Regions from separate parts of the Homo sapiens genome. Here regions 1 and 2 are each linked to region 3. The links are contacts of gene promoters, found by promoter capture Hi-C in human tissues and cell types (Jung and others, 2019). All regions are on one chromosome and are shown on one strand. The core of a region is centred on a gene start or on the middle of the fragment in contact, and the rest is flanking DNA. Distances in the headings are between cores, read along the strand shown. Region 1 has its middle 56 kb from the start of PNRC1-DT. Region 2 has its middle 4.1 kb from the start of PNRC1-DT. Region 3 holds the start of RRAGD (Ras related GTP binding D).

Region 1 (4,344 bases), core at 363-2,862, 390 kb before region 3:
TTAAGAAAGGAAGTAGCCAGTCACTGCAGAAGTGTGGTGGAAGATGGATTTGGAAGTTGAGACTAAAGGCAAGAATACCATCCATGAGAACACAGCAAAAGTCTGAAGGTCAAATTGACAAGAGCCTGAACTAAAGCAGCGTACATGGAAAAGGAGAGGAGGTGACGACTAGAGAGAAAGCTTATGTAGGTCTTTGTGATGGAGTGTGTGGAGGGTGGGAGAAGACAGCCTGAGGGAGAGGATGGGGTTCAGGAATCCTCCTTTGTCTTCACTCACCATGGTTGAAGCTGTGGACTGCCAGTAGAGTAAGCTCTAACCTACATAAAGTTTAGGTCTCCACCATGCCATCTCCCCACAAGTACAGCAACCGCAAATTTCTAATCTGGTGAATGTGTATGATCAATAATGTTAAACAATGAAAATAACCACAGAATCAATTTATTAAAAGTTCTGGTCCTCTGGAAGTACCCTCTGTAATAAATCTCCTGTGCCAACTTTTTTTTTAAAAAAAGCAAGACTAGGAACAATTTCTCAGAAAGTATCATTTTGTATTACAACAGAAATCTATTCTTTTCATAATATTAGTTGAAGTAGCCACCTAGAAACAATCAATTTTAGCAGAACATAGAGTACTTCTACAAAGATTTATCACCAATATAGATTTCCTTTTTTAACTTAATGACTCACCAGCAAAAACCTTTAAAACTGGAAGGCTCTGTGCTTTGTGAGATTGCCAAAGTTAGTCACTGATTTATTCCCCTAAGTGTAATTTGGAAGAACCTGCTATGTAAATCTGAATACTGTAAACCATGCACCATGAATCTTTTAAAATCTAGTTTTCCTATTAATGGTGCCTAAATGCTTAAGAGCAGACTCACAAATTAGGAGGGGGAAGGGAGCCCTCTGGGACCTTTTCTGTGAGAAACTTTTGTGCTACAATTTCTACTGAACCTGCATTTGGAGGATCAGCAGCAGATTCAGCAGGAATGGAAGCAGAGAACTGGGTCCTTTGGCAGACAGACCTAACTTTCCAACCACAATAAAGACTGATGTCTTAAGGTTGGATAAATACTCCTGAAATTATTGAGTTTATCACAGAAAAGGGACCCTGAAAAGAAAAGTCATTCTTGAGTTAAAGCTACAAACAACTGTGAATTGTAATAAGTGTTCTAAAGGAAATGTGCACAGTACTATGATCATGTCTTTTTTCCTGTGAAAATGTCTGCAATGGGATTGACTTGGTCTAGGAGTGTTAGAGGAGTTTTCTTGTTTTTTTTTTTCCAGGCAGGGTCTGGCTCTAGCACCCAGGCTGGAGTGCAGTGGTGTGATTTCGGCTCGCTGCAGCCTCCAACTCCGGAGCTCAATCAATCCTCCCACCTCAGCCTCCTGAGTAGCTGGGATTACCAGTGCATGCCACCATGCCCAGCTAGTTTTGTATGTTTTGTAGAGACGGGGTCTTTCCATGTTGCCCAGGCTGGTCTTGAACTCCTGGACTCAAGAGATCCTCCCACCTTGGCCTCCCAAAGTGCTGGGATTACACGTGTGAGCCACTGTGCCCGGCCAGAGGAGTTTTCTTGAAGTGACTCTTTCCCTTATCTAATATTGCACAACAAACTACCCTAAAACATAATAGCACAAAGTAACAAGCTTAAAGAAGACAAAAGAGATATAGAGAGGAACCACTTTATTTGCACACAATTTTGTAATTCGGGCTGGGCTCAGATGGTCAGTTTCTCTGGTCTTGTCAGTGGTCACTCAGGAGGCTGCATCCAGCTGGCACTTAGGCTAGGCCACAGCTGGGATTCTCTCATGTAATCTTTCCATTTGGTCTCTCCAGCAGGATAATCAGACCTTTAATATGTTGGCTCAAGCCTTCCAAGAGCACAAAAATAGAAGCTGCCAGCCTTTCCTAAGGCTTAGGCTTGGAACTGACACAGCATCATATCTGCTGAATTCCACTGGTTAAATCAGTCCACCCAGAGTTCAGGAGAGGGGACTATCACACAAGGGCATGAATACTGGAAGATGGAATTCATCAGGGGCCACCTTGTAACAAGCTATTAGAATGACCTTAGGCAGCAACCTGGAAGATGAGTAAGAGTTAACTGGGCAAAGAGGGAGGAAGAATGTTCCAGGCAGGGCAGTAGTATATGCAAAGCAGTTATGGCAGAGGATCCCCAGGCATTTCTAAGTGACTGAAAGAAAGCCAAGTTTGCTGGAGCACAGAGATCAAGGGAACAGTGGGTACAGGCAGGAAGGGGCCAGACCATGTGGTGCCACCGCATTCTTTAGGAAACTTTCAAATGCAAGTGGTAGAATCCCAATGCAAACCAACTCAAGCAAAAATATAAACAAACCAAAACAAGATAAACAAAAATAAAAAGAGAAAGAGAATTTATGCACTTATATTCCTGGAAAGTCCAGGGCCCAGTGGGTTGACTTCAAGTATGGCTATATCCAGGGCTTCAAATGACATCACCAGGAATTTGTCTCCCTCCATCTCTCTCCCTTTTATTTTTAGATGGAGTCTCATTCTGTCACCCAGGCTGGAGTGCAGTGGTAGTATGATCTTGGCTCACTGCAACCTCTGCCTCCCAAGTTCAAGAGATTCTCCTGCCTCAGCCTCCCGAGTAACTGGGATTATAAGACCCCACCACTACACCCAGCTAATTTTTTTTTTTCTTTTGAGACAGTCTTGCTCTGTTGCCAGGCTGGAGTGCAGTGGCGTGATCTCAGCTCACTGCAATCTCTGCCTCCCGGGTTCAAGCAATTCTCGTGCCTCAGCCTGCCGAGTAGCTGGGACTATACAGGCACCCGCTACCACACCCGGCTAATTTTTGTATTTTCAGTAGAGACGGGGTTTCACCATGTTGGCCAGGATGGTCTCAATCTCCTGACCTTGTGATCTGCCCGCCTGGGCCTCCCAAAGTGCTGGGATTACAGGCATGAGTCACTGCGCCCAGCTAATTTTTGTATTTTTTAGTAGAAACAGAGTTTTGCCATGTTGGCCAGGCTAGTCTCGAACTTCTGACCTCAGGTGATCCACCCGCCTCGGCCTCCCAAAGTGCTGGGATTACAGGTGTGAGCCACCACACCCAGCCTCTTTTATATTTTGAATTTTTTTTTTTTTTTTTTTTTGAGACAGGGTCTCTTTCTGTTGCCCAGGCTGGAGTAGAGTGGCAAGATCACTGCAGCCTCTAACTCCTGGGCTCAAATGACCCACCTCAGCCTCTCGAATAATTGGGACTGCAGGTGCATGCCACCATACCAGACTAATATTTTATTTTTTGTAGAGACAGGGTCTCGTATGCTGCTGAGCCTGGTTTCAACTCCTGAGCTCAAACAATCCTCCCACTTTGGCCTCCCAAAGCACTGGGATTACAGCCATTGAACCACCACACCCGGCAGTCTCACCTTTCTAAAATCCTTTAGAGATTCCCCATTGTCTACAGGAACCCTTCTCCCAGGAGTCCATCACCATCCAGCCCTTGTCTCCCTTCCCAACTTTGTCTTCCCTTCTTCCTCCCATCACTTCCTCACCCCAGTTATACCTCAAAGGCTCCGTGCTCTTCCAGCTTCTAGGCCTTTTAATATACTGCTTCCTTGTCCTGGCATGCCCTTCTCCTTCAGTTTTCCTTTTATCAGTACAGCATAGTAATTGGGTCACACCTTCTTTCAAATCCTGACTCCTCTGTTTGCTAGCCAGGATGTTAAGCAAGTAACTTAACCTCTTGAGCTTTATTTTCCGCTCCTGGAAAATGGAGATAATAACAACCACGACCTCTGAGACCTAATGTAAAGATTGTTTTGTTTTTGAGACAGGGTCTCACTCTGTTGCCCAGGCTGGAGTGCCGTGGCACCATTACAGCTCACTGCAGCCTCAGTCTCCCCAGACTTAGGTGATCATCCCACCTCAGCGTCCCGAGTAGCTGGGACTACAGGCATGCACCACCACACCTGGCTAATTTTTGTACTTTCTTTTTGGAGACTGACTTTCGCCATGTTGCCCAGGGTGGTCTTGAACTCCTAGGCTTGAGGGATCCTCCCGCCTTGGCCTCCCAAAGTGCTGGGATCCAGGCATGAGCCACCACACCCAGCCTAGTATAAAAACTGAATGAGAAAGCAAATGTAAAACCCTTAGTGAAATGCCTGGCATAAAGGAAAGGCCCACTTAATGCCAGCTATCGCTGCACTCAAAATTCAAGTGTCGTGTTAAGTCATTGCTCTCTTGACTTCTATGGTTGGCTGAATGATAGCTCCCCAAAGAGGTTCACATCCTGATCCCTGGAGCCTGTTTATATGTTATTTTACATGGTAAAAGGACTTTGCAGATGTGATTAAGTT
Region 2 (4,024 bases), core at 305-2,804, 340 kb before region 3:
CCATAAACTAAATAAAGAAATACATTCTGCAAATGGCAAGGATTTTTAAAAGCTTGATCAATGTATACAATGAGAGCAAGGCTCAGGTAAGGAAGGCATAATGGAGACTGTTACCCAGCTAAGATGCAATTGGTTAAACATCAGCTGGTCTAAATGACATGCTTTTTCTATTTTTTTTTTTTTTTTTTTTTTTTGAAACAGGGTCTCACTCTGTCACCCAGGCTAGACTGCAGTGGCGCAATTATGGCTCCCTGCAGCCTTGACCTCCTGGGCTCAAGCCATCCTTCCACCTCAAGTCTCCTGAGTAGCTGGGATGACAGGTGGGCAACACCACATCCAGCTAATTTTTGTGGGTTTTGCCATTTTGCCCAGGCTGGTCTCAAATTCTTGAGCTCAAGTGATCCTCCCACCTCGGCCTCCCAAAGTTTTGGGATTACAGGCGTGAGCCACTGCACCCGGCCATGACACGCTTTTTCTTTTGGTTTTATATCTAGGCTGAAATAGAATCAAATGTCCATCATTATTATTGTACCCTAAGGTTGCCACTAGTCCTTTTGACACCTTCATACCAATAAGAAAAAGCCACCTTAGTCCATTCTGGCTGCTAAAACAAAATATCATAAACTGGGTAGATAACAAACAACAGAGATTTATTTCTCACACTTCCAGAGACCGGGATGTTCAAGATCAGGGTGCCAGCTGGTCAGGTTCTGGTGAGGTCCCTCTTCTGGGTTGCAGACTGCAGACTTCTTGCTGTGTCCTCAGTGGTATAAGGAGGAGGGGCCTCTGTGGCCTCTAATCATATGCATGAGGGCTCCAACCTGATGACCTAATCACTCCCCAAAGACCCCACGTCCTAACATTATCACACTGGTTATTAGGTTTCAACATAGGAATCTGGGGAAGACACAAACGTTCAAATCATAGCGATGCCCAGATGGCCCCAGCCCTTGGGAAGATGTCTTCAAGAGCAGAGTCAAAGCTCTGTTTCAGCTCTCCCTTGACTCTTTGGCCAGGTACCCTCATGCAAATTATAACCTGTACAAACCTGTAACCCCAGAGAGATATAAGTATAGGGATAATGGAGACATTAATTTCAATCTATGGTAACAATACTTTATAAGCACTCCAAGTGTCATAAATTTGTCATTATTGTGAAAATTTGTGCATATTTTGCTTTTTAACACAAATTTTAGATTTTTATTTAAACTCTTCAGAGTACATTATAAAATAAGTTTTGTAATCAATGCTGAAATGTTAGGAAAATTTTTACTTGCTAAACAAAAACATTTTGATTTCCTGGTTGTTTTATGTTTAGAAGACTATTATTTTATAAATTTGAAAGATTAATAATTTGAGCATTAAGCAAAACAGAAGGCCGGGTGCAGTGGCTCACGCCTATAATCCCAACACTTTGGGAAGCTGAGGCGGGCGAGTCACCTGAGGTCAGGAGTTTGAGACCAGCCTGGCCAACATGGTGAAACCCCATCTCTACTAAAAATACAAAAATTGGCCAGGCATGGTGGCATGCACCTGTAATCCCAGCTACTCAGGAGGCTGGGGCAGGAGAATCACTTGAACCTGGGAGGTGGAGGTTGCAGTGAGCCGAGCTGAGATCACACTACTACACTTCAGCCTGGGCAACAGAGTGAGACACCGTCTAAAAAAAAAAAAAAAGCAAAATAGAAGTTTGATTAAGTGTTCCTCTTTTCACACAGGTGTCCCTCACACCTTAGACATTACAGATCTAAGCAATAGGCTGGGTGAGGTGGCTCATGCCTGTAATCCCAGCACTTTGGGAGGCCAAAGTGGTTGGATCACTTGAACTCAGGAGTTCGAGACCAGCTTGGGCAACATGGCAAAACCCTGTCTCTATCAAACACGCACACACACAAATTAGCAGACATGGTGGCATGCGCCAGCTAGGGAGGATGAGGTGTGAGAATCTCCTGAACGCCAGAGGTGGAGGCTGCAGTGAGTTGTTATCGCACCACTGCACTCCAGCCTGGGTGACAGAGTGAAGCCCTGTCTCAAAAAAGAAAAAGAAAAAAAAATCTAAGTAATAATAGGTAGAAAAAATGGTAATAAAGTCTATATAAAGAGGAAAAAAGACATTCAGGGTAGGAGGAAAGAAAATGACATTTCATACAGAGAGAGGGAGAGAAAGAGGACAGAGGTAAAATACACGAGAGACAAAGGTAGATAGAAGAGAGAGAAGTGGAATTTGGAGTTCTGCTTAGTGTCAATGCGGGTAAGCTGCTTATTTCATAAATGGGCATTACCTCTTTTTTCTGCTATTTAATACCTAGTTTACTTTCCAATCTTTTATTTTTCTTCTAACCTCCTCTAAAGATTAGCTTAACAAAAATAAAATCAAGATGTACACTGGAGCAAAAAGCTTCAAGAACTCTGAGAATTCTCCTAAAATTTCCTTTACCCTTGGAATATCTTGTTACCTCCAAGTTTGGCCTTTTGGGCCCAAGCAAAAGGATCTGATTTTTTTTTTTTTTTTTTTTTTCCCTGAGATGAAGTCTTGCTCTGTCGCCCAGGCTAGAGTGCAGTGGCGTGATCTCGGCTCACTGCAACCTCTACCTCCCAGGTTCAAGTGATTCTTCTGCCTCAGCCTCCCAAGTAGCTGGGACTACAGGCATGCACCACCACAACTGGCTAATTTTTGTATTTTTAGTAGAGACAGGGTTTCATCATGTTGGCCAGGCTGGTCTCCAACTCCTGACCTCAAGTGATCCATCCACCTTGCCATCCGTGAGCCACTGCACCCAGCCTGATCTTTTTCCTTTATATCATATAGCACAGCTAACACTATATGTTTAAACCTGTAACGCTTAGGTTTAAACATTAAAATTAGACTTTACTAAAGACTAAGGGTTTACAAAGACTACCCACACAGAGTAACATTAAATCCAATCATCTGGCTTATAAAACCTCGACCTCTCTCTTCTAAGTGCCCCATTTCAGCTCCCATTCTGTTTCTTAGTGGTGGGCACCATTTTAGCAATCTCAGCACCCATCACCCAGGTGGTCACAGCTGCAAGGTTACTTTTCTTACAGTACAGAACCCAGGGCAAACATGAAGCCTACACTTAAGGCCTCAAAATGATAAGTTATACACATAATTACTCCAACAATCACCCAAGAAATACACATAGACAATAATAGGTATCTTTGACCAAGGGCCCCACAGAGCTGGCTACCAATGACCAGCTCCCTGAAGGGTAAATTATTCTCTAGGACAGTATGATATTATCCCCAGATAAAGTCAAGCCTAAAATCATGGGATATAGTGAAAAGAACACTGGACTAGGCATCAGGAGTTCGAGTTATTCCTACCTCATTTTGTGAACCCCCCCCCCCAAGCAAGTTACTATATATTTAAATTTATTTACACCATACGTTAAATAGGACCTCTCTATATCAACCTTAAAGTGCTAGAGTAAGAATAAAATGAGATGACAGATGGAAAGTGCTTTGAAAAAGTAGATTCTTTTACAGCTCTGGATGTCCATGATTCCCATCCATCCAATGAACATGAGCACTTACTATGCATTACATGTTGCAGAAACAAAAATGAGTAAAATTCAGCAATTGGAATGAAATGGAGTTTTTTTGGTTTCTTTTTTGTTTTTTGAGATGGAGTATTGCTCTGTTGCCCAGGCTGGAGTGCAGTGGCATGATCTCGGCTCACTGCAACCTCTACCTCCCAGGTTTAAACGATCCTCCTGCCTCAGCCCCCCTAGTAGCTGGGATTACAGGCACATTAGCCTGTATGCCCAGCTAATTTTTATATTTTTAGTAGAGACAGGGTTTCGCCATGTTGGCCAGGCTGGTCTCAAACTCCTGACCTTAGGTAATCCAGCCGCCTCGGCCTCCCAAAGTGCTAGGATTACAGGTGTGAGCCACCACGCCTGGCCTGAAATGTAGTTTTAAAAGCTTATAAGGTTGACTGGGTTTGGTGGCTCACTCCTGTAATCCCATCACTTTGGGAGGCTGAGACAGGCAGATGGCT
Region 3 (4,396 bases), core at 68-2,567:
AAGTGACCTTACAGTAAAGGAACTTTTGCTCGCTTCTGAGGGAAACTAAAAAAAGTTTAACCTCTCTGGAATACTAAAAGGCTCTCAACTTCCTTACACCTTAAGAAAATGCAGGAAGCCCCCACAAGCTGAACGATTGCTAAAACCCGCTTCTAGAACAGGAAAAAGAGTTTGCTTCACTATTGAAGCAAAGAATTCCCCGCCGCGCGCTCACTCCCGGGCAGGCACTGCCATGTCCAGGTGGTGATACCGAGAGCAGATAAGGTGTCCTGACAACGGTGTTTGCGTGGATCCCGGGAAATCTGCGGCCTCTCGGAGACTCCCACAACAGCTTGGCGAGCATCCCCCCGCCGCCCCGCGGGTCTCCCCAGCCACTACCTGGGTGGGCCCCTCCCGCGGCGACGCGGGGCGAGACTGACACCCGCAGCTGCCGACGACCCTGCCAGTCACGCCGCCGCCGGCTGCCTTTTTTTAGCCACGACATCTGACCCTGGCTTCAACAGCACCGTTCTGGGAGAGAGGTCCCAGGGCGCGCCCGCGGTCCCCTCCCCTCCCCAACCGCCAGACGCTGCGGAGAGCTTGGGGTGAGGGGCGCGGGAGGCACCGGCTCTGAAAGGGGCAGAAGCGCGCGCTCCTCCAGCCCAGACGCTTACTCCCTCCTTCCCCTTTTCCACCGATCCTGGTTGCCCCTCCGCCACCAGCACCGCGCTCCCTCATTTGGCAGCTCGAGGTCGGGCTTTTGGCGTCCCTCCCCACCCCAAACCCTCAACTGGACCCGCTCCCCTGGACCCCCTCCAAGTCGGTGGCTCGCGCACGGCCGGGCTGGGGGCGGGAAGGCGCCAAGGGGAGGAAAGGGGCGCGAGCCGAGGACGCGGGGGCCGGGCGCTCACCTCCCTCCTCTGTGCCGCTGTCCGGATCGGCGTCGGAGGAGTCGGGCCCGTCTCCGTAGTCCGCTAGCCCCACCAGCTCATCCTCCTCCTCCTCCTCCTCCGCGTCGTCCTCGTCCTGCGGCTGCGGCTTCCCCAGCACCTGGCTCATCGTGCCCACCGGCCGGCCGGCCCGGGGACGGCGGGGGTCCCGGGGTGGGGGCCAAGCCTCCTAGCCGGCCGCCCGCAGCCTATTTCTGAAGCGGAGGTTTGTCTAGAGCTCAGCGGGGCCCGGCGGAAGCGGGGGCCGCGCGTCCCCCGGCGGGCGGCGCCCAGGTCCGGGTCCCGCGGTTCCCAGCGCGCCCGAAGCCCCCTCCCCCGCCCCGCCCGCCGGCGGAGGAGTCAGCCGGAGCGCGGCAGTTCCTCCCGGAGGAGGGAGAGAGAGAGAGACTGCGTGACCCGAGTCACCTGACACACACTGTCACATACTCACATACACACCCCGCACGGGCGCGCGCGCGCTCGCCCGGCCGCGGGCACCACTCGGCGGGGCGCTGGGCCGAGGACACACATGCACACGCACACGCACACGCACGAGGAGACCGGGGAGGCGCGGGGCCCCTGCACCCTCCCAGACTCACACCGACACACGCCCCGTACACGGGGCCCCCGGGACGCCGGCCGTCACCCACCGCGGCTGCGCGCCAGGGGCCCCCACGCGCCTCTCCTTCACGTGGTCCCCGCACAGGCAGGGGAGGGGGCGCCGCACACCCTCAATGTCCCCCCCGCCGTCCCACTCCCACACGCCCGCAGAGCGTCTACCGTGGGCGGATGCCTCCTGCTTACAGTCCTGAGCTAGGGTCCCAAGCGGGTGGCCTCCCAACACTGTGGCGCCCAGATCCCCCACCCCAGAGCAGCGTGCCCAGGACACCCTGTGGACGCTCAAGAGCCCCAGGCGGAGAACTCAGATAAATGCACAGTGGAGGCGCAGTCTCCATAGCAATTGTCTTTTAGTGTGCCTTTATGGTTCAAAGTGCTTCCCACCAAGAATATTTAAAAAGCAGGCCTACCCAGACGTAAATGTTTCTGAAGAAATCACATGACTCGTGGCTGCTTAGACTAAATAATTCCTCTGCAGCCCTTTGGAAAAGGTCTCAGTGTATAACACACTCGGGGGCTATTCATGGCCACCTCCTCATGTCTCATTGTTGCATAGACTGTAATCCCACATGAATAAAATATTTCAAGGCTTTTGTGGGAGTAGGGGAGTGGCGGTGGTGGGGGGGCAATTCTCAAATAGGAATAGCAGCAACGTGGAGTGAGACTCTAAAACCTGCATTCCTCCTTCACAAGCTTTTCACCACGGAACACACTGTACCCACCCTTTCTGGGTACTGCAAAAAATTACGTGGATGAACTTCCTTCTGTGGAGCACAATAAGAAAAAACCGGCCGGTCAGCATGATGATCCAGCTCCTACAGGTGCCAGCAGCTCAGCCGGTGGTGCGGTGCAGAAGCGGAGGGAGGAAGCTAGGGCAGGAGACTCTCAGGGCCCAAGGGTGCTAACCTCCATAGGAAACATTTATTAACCACCTCCTATATGCCTGAGGCTGGGCTAAGTAGAGGGTCCAAGAATGCTCAGGGCAGTGTTCCTGCCCTGAAGGAGCTCACAGTCTACCAAATCATGACTCATGTCCTGGATTTTTTTTAGTATTTCTGAGTGCAGAAGGTGGATGCAGACACTTTCCAGAAGGTGGCTGCTTCTAATGGGAAAGGTCCTGAGATTTTCCAAGGGAGGCAGGCAGTATAATTTGGTATGACTGTATCAGTTAAGGTTCTTCCCAGGATGAAACAGACGGTATGTGCAAAGACTTTAACTGAAGCCTTCAAGTGAAGGAACAATTTACAGGGGTGTGGACAGAGTTTAGGGAATCAATGCAGGTATTAGCGATAGTGGGAAGATAACACCACCCCTAAATTTACAGGAGTGAGGAAGGGAGCTAGAGTCCTGGAGAGGGGCCACAAAACAGGAGCTGTAACTGATGAGGAAGCTGCTGCTGCCAGAACGGCCTCACATCAAGGAGAGAGCAAAGACCTCTCTTTCTCTCCATCCATCCTCCCTCCACTCTCCTGTGTCTCCCATTGGCCAAACCCATCTGGTAGCCAGAAGGCAAGGGAGCCTGGAACCTAGTCCAGGACAGAGATTGGATAGGGAGGGCAGGGAGTGGGTCCCTGGGTGGGGTGAGGTGCAAGGAGCATCACCAACACAAGCAGGCACTACATACTCCCATCAGAGGCAAGTTACTTATGCCCTTCTAAACCCGATTGCTTATCAATAGAACATCACTCCTTCTAAGGATTATTAGGAAGATTAAATGAGGCGGAAAAAAAATCTCAGGTACTTACAAAGCTCATTTCCTAGGAGTAATTTTCCTAGCCTATTTTCATCCCTTCCGTCAAAGGAAACCCCAGGGAGGAGGGCCTCCCAGAGTGTGGCTGAGGACTTTCAGCTATTCTATAGCTAGCCCACCATCCTCAAGTGGCCTTTGAACTGGTCTGATTCAAACTGCAAATAACAATTTAGGAGATCTAGAAGACTGTCCAAGGTCAACCCAGACTCAGACGTATAGGGCATTCCTGGGCAGGTTGCCAAGTGTGTAAGACCCATGGACTCAAGGGATCAGGAAAGGGCAGGTCATAATCCAACAGCCCCACTGTGCCTATGGACTAGAAAGGACAGAAATGTCTGATGATCCTCTAACTTCCCCAGGAAGAGAGATCTTAGAAGGAAACAATAGATTGGGGCACACTCCAAGATACTTGAGAATTGGACCATTCTTTTGTTTTTTTCTTTTAACATGGAGTCTCACTCTATCACCCAGGATGGAGTGTAGTGACATGATCTCAGCTCACTGCAACCCCTACCCCCCAGGTTCAAGCGATTCTCTTGCCTCAGCCCCTGAGTAGCTGGGACTACAGGCATGCACCACCACACCCAGCTAATTTTTGTATTTTTAGTAGAGACAGCGTTTCACCATGTTGGCCAGGCTGGTCTCGAACTCCTGACCTCAGGTGATCCACCCACTTCGGCCTCCCAAAGTGCTGGGATTACAGGCATGAGCCACCGCACCCAACCTGGACCATTCTTAAGAATAAGAATAAAATAAAATCCCACAAAAAAATCAGTAGAAGTCAAATCCTCAATTATATTCTACCCCAAGCTAAAGAGTCATATACAGATTTAAGATATTCTAATTTACTACCATTTCAGAAATGTATAGTTGAACAGAACAGGAAAAGCCTTGATTGCTTTTTTTCTTTTGCTGACATCATTTGAATACTGTCAGCTTTCAAAGAAGAGATATGTTGAAAATATCCTAGAAATAGAAGTTCTTGAATTTAAAAAATCATGTGTGTAGAATCTTTCTGAATTTAAATAAAAACTGAAAAACACTACAAGAACCCTGAAAGCCTTTAAGAAACTCAGCGTGGGATCTGCTCAGTGAATTGGCTGCTGCCTTGGCCGCTCTG

The links. Contacts are between HindIII fragments. The study calls those that stand out against the background at their distance.
Region 1: a fragment that was not itself captured here is called in contact with the fragment with the promoter of RRAGD in region 3 in 2 of the 25 tissues and cell types used here (H1 embryonic stem cells and bladder).
Region 2: a fragment that was not itself captured here is called in contact with the fragment with the promoter of RRAGD in region 3 in 2 of the 25 tissues and cell types used here (heart left ventricle and hippocampus).

Annotation. Positions count from the first base shown.
Region 1 is chr6:89,022,198-89,026,541 of GRCh38, forward strand. No RefSeq gene overlaps it. Among named protein-coding and RNA genes, the nearest start is that of PNRC1-DT, 56 kb to the right of the region's middle. The HindIII fragment of the contact is 6,267 bases long and covers 1-4,344 here.
Region 2 is chr6:89,074,487-89,078,510 of GRCh38, forward strand. No RefSeq gene overlaps it. Among named protein-coding and RNA genes, the nearest start is that of PNRC1-DT, 4.1 kb to the right of the region's middle. The HindIII fragment of the contact is 5,757 bases long and covers 1-4,024 here.
Region 3 is chr6:89,410,956-89,415,351 of GRCh38, forward strand. It overlaps RRAGD (Ras related GTP binding D), which reads right to left and starts at 1,318. Exons shown (of 7, transcript NM_021244.5): 1 at 891-1,318. The coding sequence starts at 1,038. RefSeq lists silencers at 275-374, 405-514, 545-1,734. The HindIII fragment of the contact is 6,593 bases long and covers 1-3,935 here.